Regions from separate parts of the Homo sapiens genome. Here region 2 is linked to region 1. The links are contacts of gene promoters, found by promoter capture Hi-C in blood cells and fetal thymus (Javierre and others, 2016). All regions are on one chromosome and are shown on one strand. The core of a region is centred on a gene start or on the middle of the fragment in contact, and the rest is flanking DNA. Distances in the headings are between cores, read along the strand shown. Region 1 holds the start of CA8 (carbonic anhydrase 8). Region 2 overlaps LOC105375858 (a long non-coding RNA gene).

What was found. Contacts are between HindIII fragments. The CHiCAGO score rates a contact against its expected background, and 5 or more counts as called.
Region 2: a contact is called between a fragment that was not itself captured here and the fragment with the promoter of CA8 in region 1, in 1 of 17 cell types (naive B cells). The highest score is 5.1, in naive B cells.

The regions. Positions count from the first base shown.
Region 1 is chr8:60,279,649-60,283,210 of GRCh38, reverse strand. CA8 (carbonic anhydrase 8) reads left to right here and starts at 1,811. Exons shown (of 9, transcript NM_004056.6): 1 at 1,811-2,163; 2 at 3,331-3,522. The coding sequence starts at 2,064. RefSeq lists a silencer at 1,628-1,836 and an enhancer at 1,829-2,335. The HindIII fragment of the contact is 5,420 bases long and covers 1-3,562 here.
Region 2 is chr8:58,740,264-58,743,826 of GRCh38, reverse strand. LOC105375858 (a long non-coding RNA gene) reads left to right here. Exons shown (of 3, transcript XR_928924.3): 3 at 3,003-3,115. Among named protein-coding and RNA genes, the nearest start is that of NSMAF, 82 kb to the right of the region's middle. The HindIII fragment of the contact is 4,226 bases long and covers 1-3,437 here.

The DNA of each region.
Region 1 (3,562 bases), core at 562-3,061:
CACAATGGCTACAATGTCATACTTAGGCACATTTGGGGGACAGAGGAGAAAGGCCATTGCTGATGAGCTCAGAGTGGCAGTGCTTTTATTATCCAATTCCTTCATAGCCTTTGTATGGGCTTCCTTAGCTGTGGCATTTAATTAACGTGTGAACATACTTCTAAAAAGAAACTTAAAACAAATAGAAGATTACAAAAAAGTTTTCAAGAAAGGAAAAATAAATGTTCCTTTTAGAAGACCTTCAGTGAAAAGTAGTTAATATTTTCAGTAGTGCTTATTATTTTTAATAGCTCTGGCTTTGGGGTAGGCTTCTGCTTCTGCCAGTCCCAGGCTTGCAAAGATGCAAACGACCGTCCACTAAAGAACACCCAGAATGCAGTGAGTGAAAAATGAATTTAGTTTCTCAAACTGTTTCAGTCCTCTGCACAGTTAAGGAAAAGAGAAATTATATGAATGCTTAAAATCCACCGGTTATCCTCCAAGCTAATGTTGGCCAGTAGTTTTCCATATATTTGGTTAAACCTTCCAGAAAGTGGCAGAATTGAGCGAGTTGAGGGTTCCCCCCACTTCTTTCCATCTCAGTGTACTTTCTGGAGCAGTTTGTAATTTTTTTTTTTTAAAAGCTATGAAGTGTCTTTTTAAAAAGTGGAGGTGCTTAGCAGGCAGTAAAGGATATGAGCACTGAAACTAAACATTCCCAAACGGATCATTTCCATCCTTATTTGAGGAATTATGCATTCATAAGGCTGGTGTGATTTAGGAACAGGTTATTCAAAGTGCAAATAGATATCTTCATGAATGACCAGAGCATATAAAAAACAAATTGTACTTAAGGTCCTAACTCGAGTTTATTGTGCACATATATCTTCTAAAAATGTGGAGTTAACCTACTTAGGGGTTACTGACCAGGGCTTTTAAAAGGCACAGGAACAGAGGGCTGAAGTCGTTAACACTAGACTGAGAAGCACGTTTAAGGGTAACAATGCCACCTCTTTGGATCAGAAGAGTTCCTGTTTGTTATGCAATGTGTGCACTTCATTATTTACACGATTTCACTAGGTGAATGGGAGCTGTGTACACAGCCAGGTGAGCCTGCAGCAGCGCCCCAGACTCTGACAGCGAACACCCTCTGTCTACTGCCTTCTGCTAGCCCTGCTTTGAAACAATACCCTTTTCTGGAAAAAAAAAAAAAAAAAACACAACCCTAAATCATAGCTACTTCTCTAGATAACAACCATTTTCTTTTCTTAAACGTTTTTAGGAATTAATAGAACTTTCTTGGAAAAATTTCCAAACTCGTTTCCACTGCGCTGAACGGACGATTTAAAAAGTAAATACTCAGAAGATACTAAGAAGATTCCGCTGGAGAGTCTCTTTTTATTGTGTTACGGGGTCTCCTAGCCCTCTCCTTTCTCCTACCCACGGCAGCCCATCTCTCTCCTCCAGGACCCCTTCTTTTTGGTATTTCCTGGAGTACGGATGAAAATGAATAGGTGAGCAGCCTCTGGGCTAGGCCAGGCACACAGGGGTCCCGAGTGACCTTGGGAGACTTGCGGGCTTCTGGAAGGAAGGCTCGGGCGGCCAAGCAGGAGTCGCCGCAGCGAGGAAGCGCCAGGAGGCGGCGGGGGCGACCCCGGGGGAAGGGCGGGCGGGGATGCGCCGAGGTTTCCGTGACTTGGGACTAGTCGCCCCGAGGCGCATTCTAACTGTCGGCTCCCCTGGCCCCAACGGCCAGAGAGAGAAGGGGGCGGATCCTCGCGTACCAGACACGCCCCGGTCGGGTATAAAATTCGCCAGGCGCTCGCTCCCCAGGCCACAGCCGCTCCCTCGCTCTGCTGGGGCCTCCGGACGCGCTTCCCACGCGGGTCTCTGGAACACTCGGTCCGAACGCACGCCTGCTTGCACTCACACTGCGGTTCACACCCGGAGGCGCTCTCGCACTCACACTGCCGCTCACGCGTGCTCACACTCCCCCACGCGCGCTCCGCTCCGGCTCCAGCCCCGCGCCCAGCGAAGGCGCAGGCACTGCTGCCGAGAGCGCCGAGGGGCCCCGCGGCCTTCCCATGGCGGACCTGAGCTTCATCGAAGATACCGTCGCCTTCCCCGAGAAGGAAGAGGATGAGGAGGAAGAAGAGGAGGGTGTGGAGTGGGGCTACGAGGAAGGTAAGTGGCCGCGAGTCGGGGTGTCCGGGGTCCCGCGGCGGCGTCAGTGTCTCGCCGAGCGCGGGACTCGAGTCCTGCTGCCGCTGCGCGCTCCGAGCACCCCCACGCCCCCTCTTTCCCACGGGGGTCTCTGCCACTTTCCCACTCCCCTGGTGCGTTTCGGGCGGGAGGCGCTCCAGGGAGGCGTGCTCGCCGCCTGCGCTCTTCCGCCGCCTGCGCTCTCACCCGGGAGCCTTCCGCAGGGCTGGCGTTCGCACCTGCTGCGGTCCGGAGGGCGGGCTAGCCTCCAAGCCGTGGCTGTACCTTTTATGTCTTCTGAGTAGTCAAGAAGAGCAGCGGTACATTTTACTAAACACCTGAGGAAGACAGTGTTAGCGTGAAGAATTCGTTTTTGGCTTGGAGACTTTGGGGAGAAAGTGTTTCTGCCTCTGGTCTTTTCGTGAAGCCTGCTAGCAATGCTCAAGTCTTTCTAAAACATGTCCTAAATTTCAGACTGAATCATTGGGTTTGGCGAGAAGCGGTTGACTTTCTGAAAAACTCGAGTTTCCTAGATTTATTCCTAAAGACCTAGGGCTCCTATTAGAGCCAACCAGTAGTGCTGATGTTTACTACATATGTTGAAACCAATATAGAATATATAATTTTAATTATAAAAAATTTGGAAAGACTATGGGAATATGTATGTACACAGATATATACATATGCACACTTTAAAATACTACACTTGCATTTCTGATAAGGGGCGTCTATTTACTAGCATGAGAGTTAGGGTTCTGACTGTCACTAAGTATGTTGAAAGTTACAGCTGTTTCCCAGGTACTGAACGTAATTGAACTAATAAGCAGAAGAAATTGTTCTGGTATTCTTTTTTCCTAATCACTTAAAAATGACCCAAATTTCCTAGAATCATAAATTATTATGTCTTTGTTGACAAATACAAATAGAATATTTTGCTAGTCCGGGATTTTGTGTATGGTATTTGATAATAACAGATCATTCAAATAATGAATGCAAAAACAAATAGAATTACCATATTTCATCTGTATAGTGATGGTATCATTACTCTCTTCATGATATCAAGGGTTCTAAGTGTTTAGTTTTTACATGTTAAATTTTACTGTAATTTATTTTTTAACCTGTTTTTAATTTATTTCATTTTGTTCTTAGGTGTTGAGTGGGGTCTGGTGTTTCCTGATGCTAATGGGGAATACCAGTCTCCTATTAACCTAAACTCAAGAGAGGCTAGGTATGACCCCTCGCTGTTGGATGTCCGCCTCTCCCCAAATTATGTGGTGTGCCGAGACTGTGAAGTCACCAATGATGGACATACCATTCAGGTTATCCTGAAGTCAAAATCAGGTATTTTAGAAAATATGTTTGTGTGGTCTTTTAAACTAGA
Region 2 (3,563 bases), core at 75-2,574, 1.5 Mb after region 1:
AGATAGCAGTATTCTCATGCATGCCTCATTGGTAAGATTAGCTACAGGCAGTTTTGCAGAAAGACAGAACTTTACTATGAACTCATTCTGATAGTATATTAGGTTTTTAAATAGCATACAAAACTTAGGTTTTAAGTATGTTCATATGTGTTAAAATTTTGATCACTTTACTGGAGAATTTTTTACTCCTGTGTAGTGCATAGTAAACAGTTCAATGACGGCGATAGTGGTAGTGATGTTTTGAACAGCTGTGGTACTATATTCATACACTGATTTTATTGGGCCTATGTTATAACCCAGATACAGAAGGATTCCACCCAAATTTGGGGGGGGAATGTAAAGCCATTAAAATGAACTGAAAGACTTTTTTTTGAAAAGGATATTAATGATGCCAATGCCTTTTATATCTGAATTTTGAAAAGTAGAATATCAATGAGACCCATTAGAGAACATTTGGGGAAATTTAGATGTTGAAAACCTGCCTTAATTGATTGCAAAACAGAGAGACAGCTAATGTACGACTTCAGTAAGCATTTATTTTAATGAAGAAAGAGCTAGCTGTCCTAATGATTTTGAAGGAATCTCTGCACATGAGCAGGGTTAGTATGGACAACTGCCAACATTTGTGCCTTTCACCAAATGGACATTTCTAGCAGCATGTTGCCACAATACTTTCAAGGCTCAACTGAATTTATGACAGTTTGGTTGTATTTTTCTTGGTCCATAGAAGCTGATCAAAGAATCCTCAAGTCACTAGCTAACGGTCAATTTGATAAGAACGCTAAAATTATCTGGGTAAACTGTATTGTGGCCAATTATTTTAATAATTGGAATTGGATGAATTATGTGTTAATATAAACAACTGTGCTCAACACAGTTGTGTGTAAACCCTCAAGACGATTGAGCTCAGGGGCTGTATAGACATGGACATGCTCATTCAGCAGATCACGCTAAGCAATCAGGAGCCATGCTGAGCTGCACGTAGCTCATCAACTTCAAGGTTCTGACTCATATCAACTGCCTTTGCCCCAGATTCTCAATTTTTAGTGGTAAAATCAATGTAACATATTTCCTTGGTATTTTTTTCTGATTAAAGGTAGCTCTTCTCAATAAAACTAGTTTTCTGCTTACAGGAGAGCTAGCTTAAAGAATGCCTTATGGCAGATTGTAACATTGTCTCCTGTCTTTCGAGCATTCCCCAGAACTGAAAAATTGGATTGTTTTAAGGCTGTGTCAGATTACCCCACAAGTATTTAGCACTATCACTGGAGATGGGGCAAAGGAAGGAGAGAACATTCACCACCACTCAGGATCTTTCTGGGGCAAGCTGAGCCTGTGCAGCAAATTCATTGTCATCTGAAGAAGGCCAAGGATAAACATGAACTGAAAAGTGAAACGCCAACAACCCTTCTTTCCTTGGCCCAGAAGGATTTTTAGATAGTAACTCAAGTGAATTCTTCTCCCACTGCTATTCAGTTTTGTTGTCCACAATAAATTAGGACAACTGTGGACACGGAGTGTGATCTAGTTTATCCTCCTTGTTACATTACACTCACACGGGAAGCCATCAGAGTTGAAAGTGACATTCTATTCTGGCTCCAGAAGTCATAGTAAAAAGTGAACCTTGGAATTTGTGATAAAGAAGGAACATATCTTTAGAGGAGAAATCTAATAGCATCTTCCCTCCATGGGACAGGTAGTCAATCAAACGGCATCTAAACCCAGTATGGAGAGAGAGTAAGGAGGCATACTCTAAACTCACTCCATGTGATTGAATTCCATGAACTATCCTATTTTGTTAGATCGGCTCTTGGAGAAAGAATGAGTTAAACCTCAAGACACATGCTGCACATTATATTATTTTTTGTACTTTCTTACATTATACATATACTACTATGAATTATATATTGATGTGTTTATTACAAATACACATTATATATACTAAGGAAGAATAGATATATGGTATATATATATTCTTTCATATTCTGTTTCATCTTTCATCTTACCTTGTGAATGTGTGATTTAGATAAAATTAAACATGTAAACTAGATGAGTCAGCTGTCTTTTACTCTTCCTTAATTATGCTATGATTAATCAATTGAAAGAGGATCAAGAAATTTATTTTCAGTGTTGAATAACTACAAAATTAAACAGAGTGAGAGGTGGCTGTCTAATCTGGTATAATAACCCTCCTAAGAACAGCCTTATAAGAGAGGCTTCACGATTGTCCTCAGGGAAATGTCTGAAACAGGTAACAATTCAGAAAGGGGAAGAAGCCCAATAACAAGGGAAGGCTTTCTCTTGAGACAGGTTACTGAGTAAGAGGGGGAGATTAACTAGTGTTTATTATCCCTAAGATATAGACGCTTATCTGAGTACTGAGATAACTCAATAATCAGCCAAAGAAGGAACATGCTCCCATGTCCTAGTTTCAAATTCTTGTGCCTTACCAGTCATAGCAAAAAACACTTGAAAAGGATAAAGAGATAGAAAAAGTATTCTAAGAGTTTTTTTTCCAAGTGGACAAAGTTAGTGGCCATAACTGGGTCCCATCCCGCCCCTTCCCCTGGACATATGCTAGGTAAATCCTGGATGTTTGGCCCAAGGTATATCTAGCACAGAGGGAAGAAAGTCAGAATTTATCTCTGGGAGCAAAAGTTAGTTCTAAGGAAGAAATATTTATCTTCCAGGTGGGCAAATATCTAAGGGGGAGTCCTTATCTTGGCTCATATCTGATGTGGTCAGGGATATGAATACATGAAAGAGGCAACTGTACAACCGGACTCAAGGAAGGAGTTTCCTCTGATCAAAAGGAAACAGCTCCAAAATGGAAGTGTGTTTGCAGAAGCTGCCTGGTTATGGAAATCCAAGACTAATTTATTGCAAGTCAATGTTTAGAAGTTAAACTAATTGTTACCTTCTTTGGGAACTAAGCAAGATCTCACCACGGACTAGTAGTCTCTTGTACATGTTTAATACTATATTGTACATATTATTTGTAGGTCTGTTCCCCATCCTGACTTTGAGCATGCTTCATGGAGAAACTGCCTCCCATAGACTATCTGGCTCGAGCTCCCCTGCCCTCCAGTGGATTTGGCCAATAGGAGGCATCAGCAAGAGATGAGAGGGCAAGAGAAAAGAGAAGTGAGGATATTTCTCTCCCTTCTCCCCTCCCTGTATTGGTGCCCCATGCTGACAGGGGCTGTTTCCTTTGTTACTACATCTCCTGCCAGACTACCCCTCCCTGGCTCCAGCCTCATAAACTCTGCTGAAACTCAATCTTCCCTTTGCCCTTTCAGGCCTAGGGGTATGAACAGCTGTCTGTTCAACTTGGCTCCCTTAACCATGCCCACACCTCTGTAAATGATCCCTTCATTAAACTATCTTCCCTTAAGTCCTTTTGTTTCTTGCTGTAACCTTAATGGATACACAAAGCTTCATTTGCAACCTCCTTGCCAACTTTCAGAGCTTCATATCCACCTGAGACCCTGTTCTTTTGTTCAAACACATATATTTGTTAGATGTTTGGTAGGGTTTACATGTGCAACAGTTAACAAGACAGT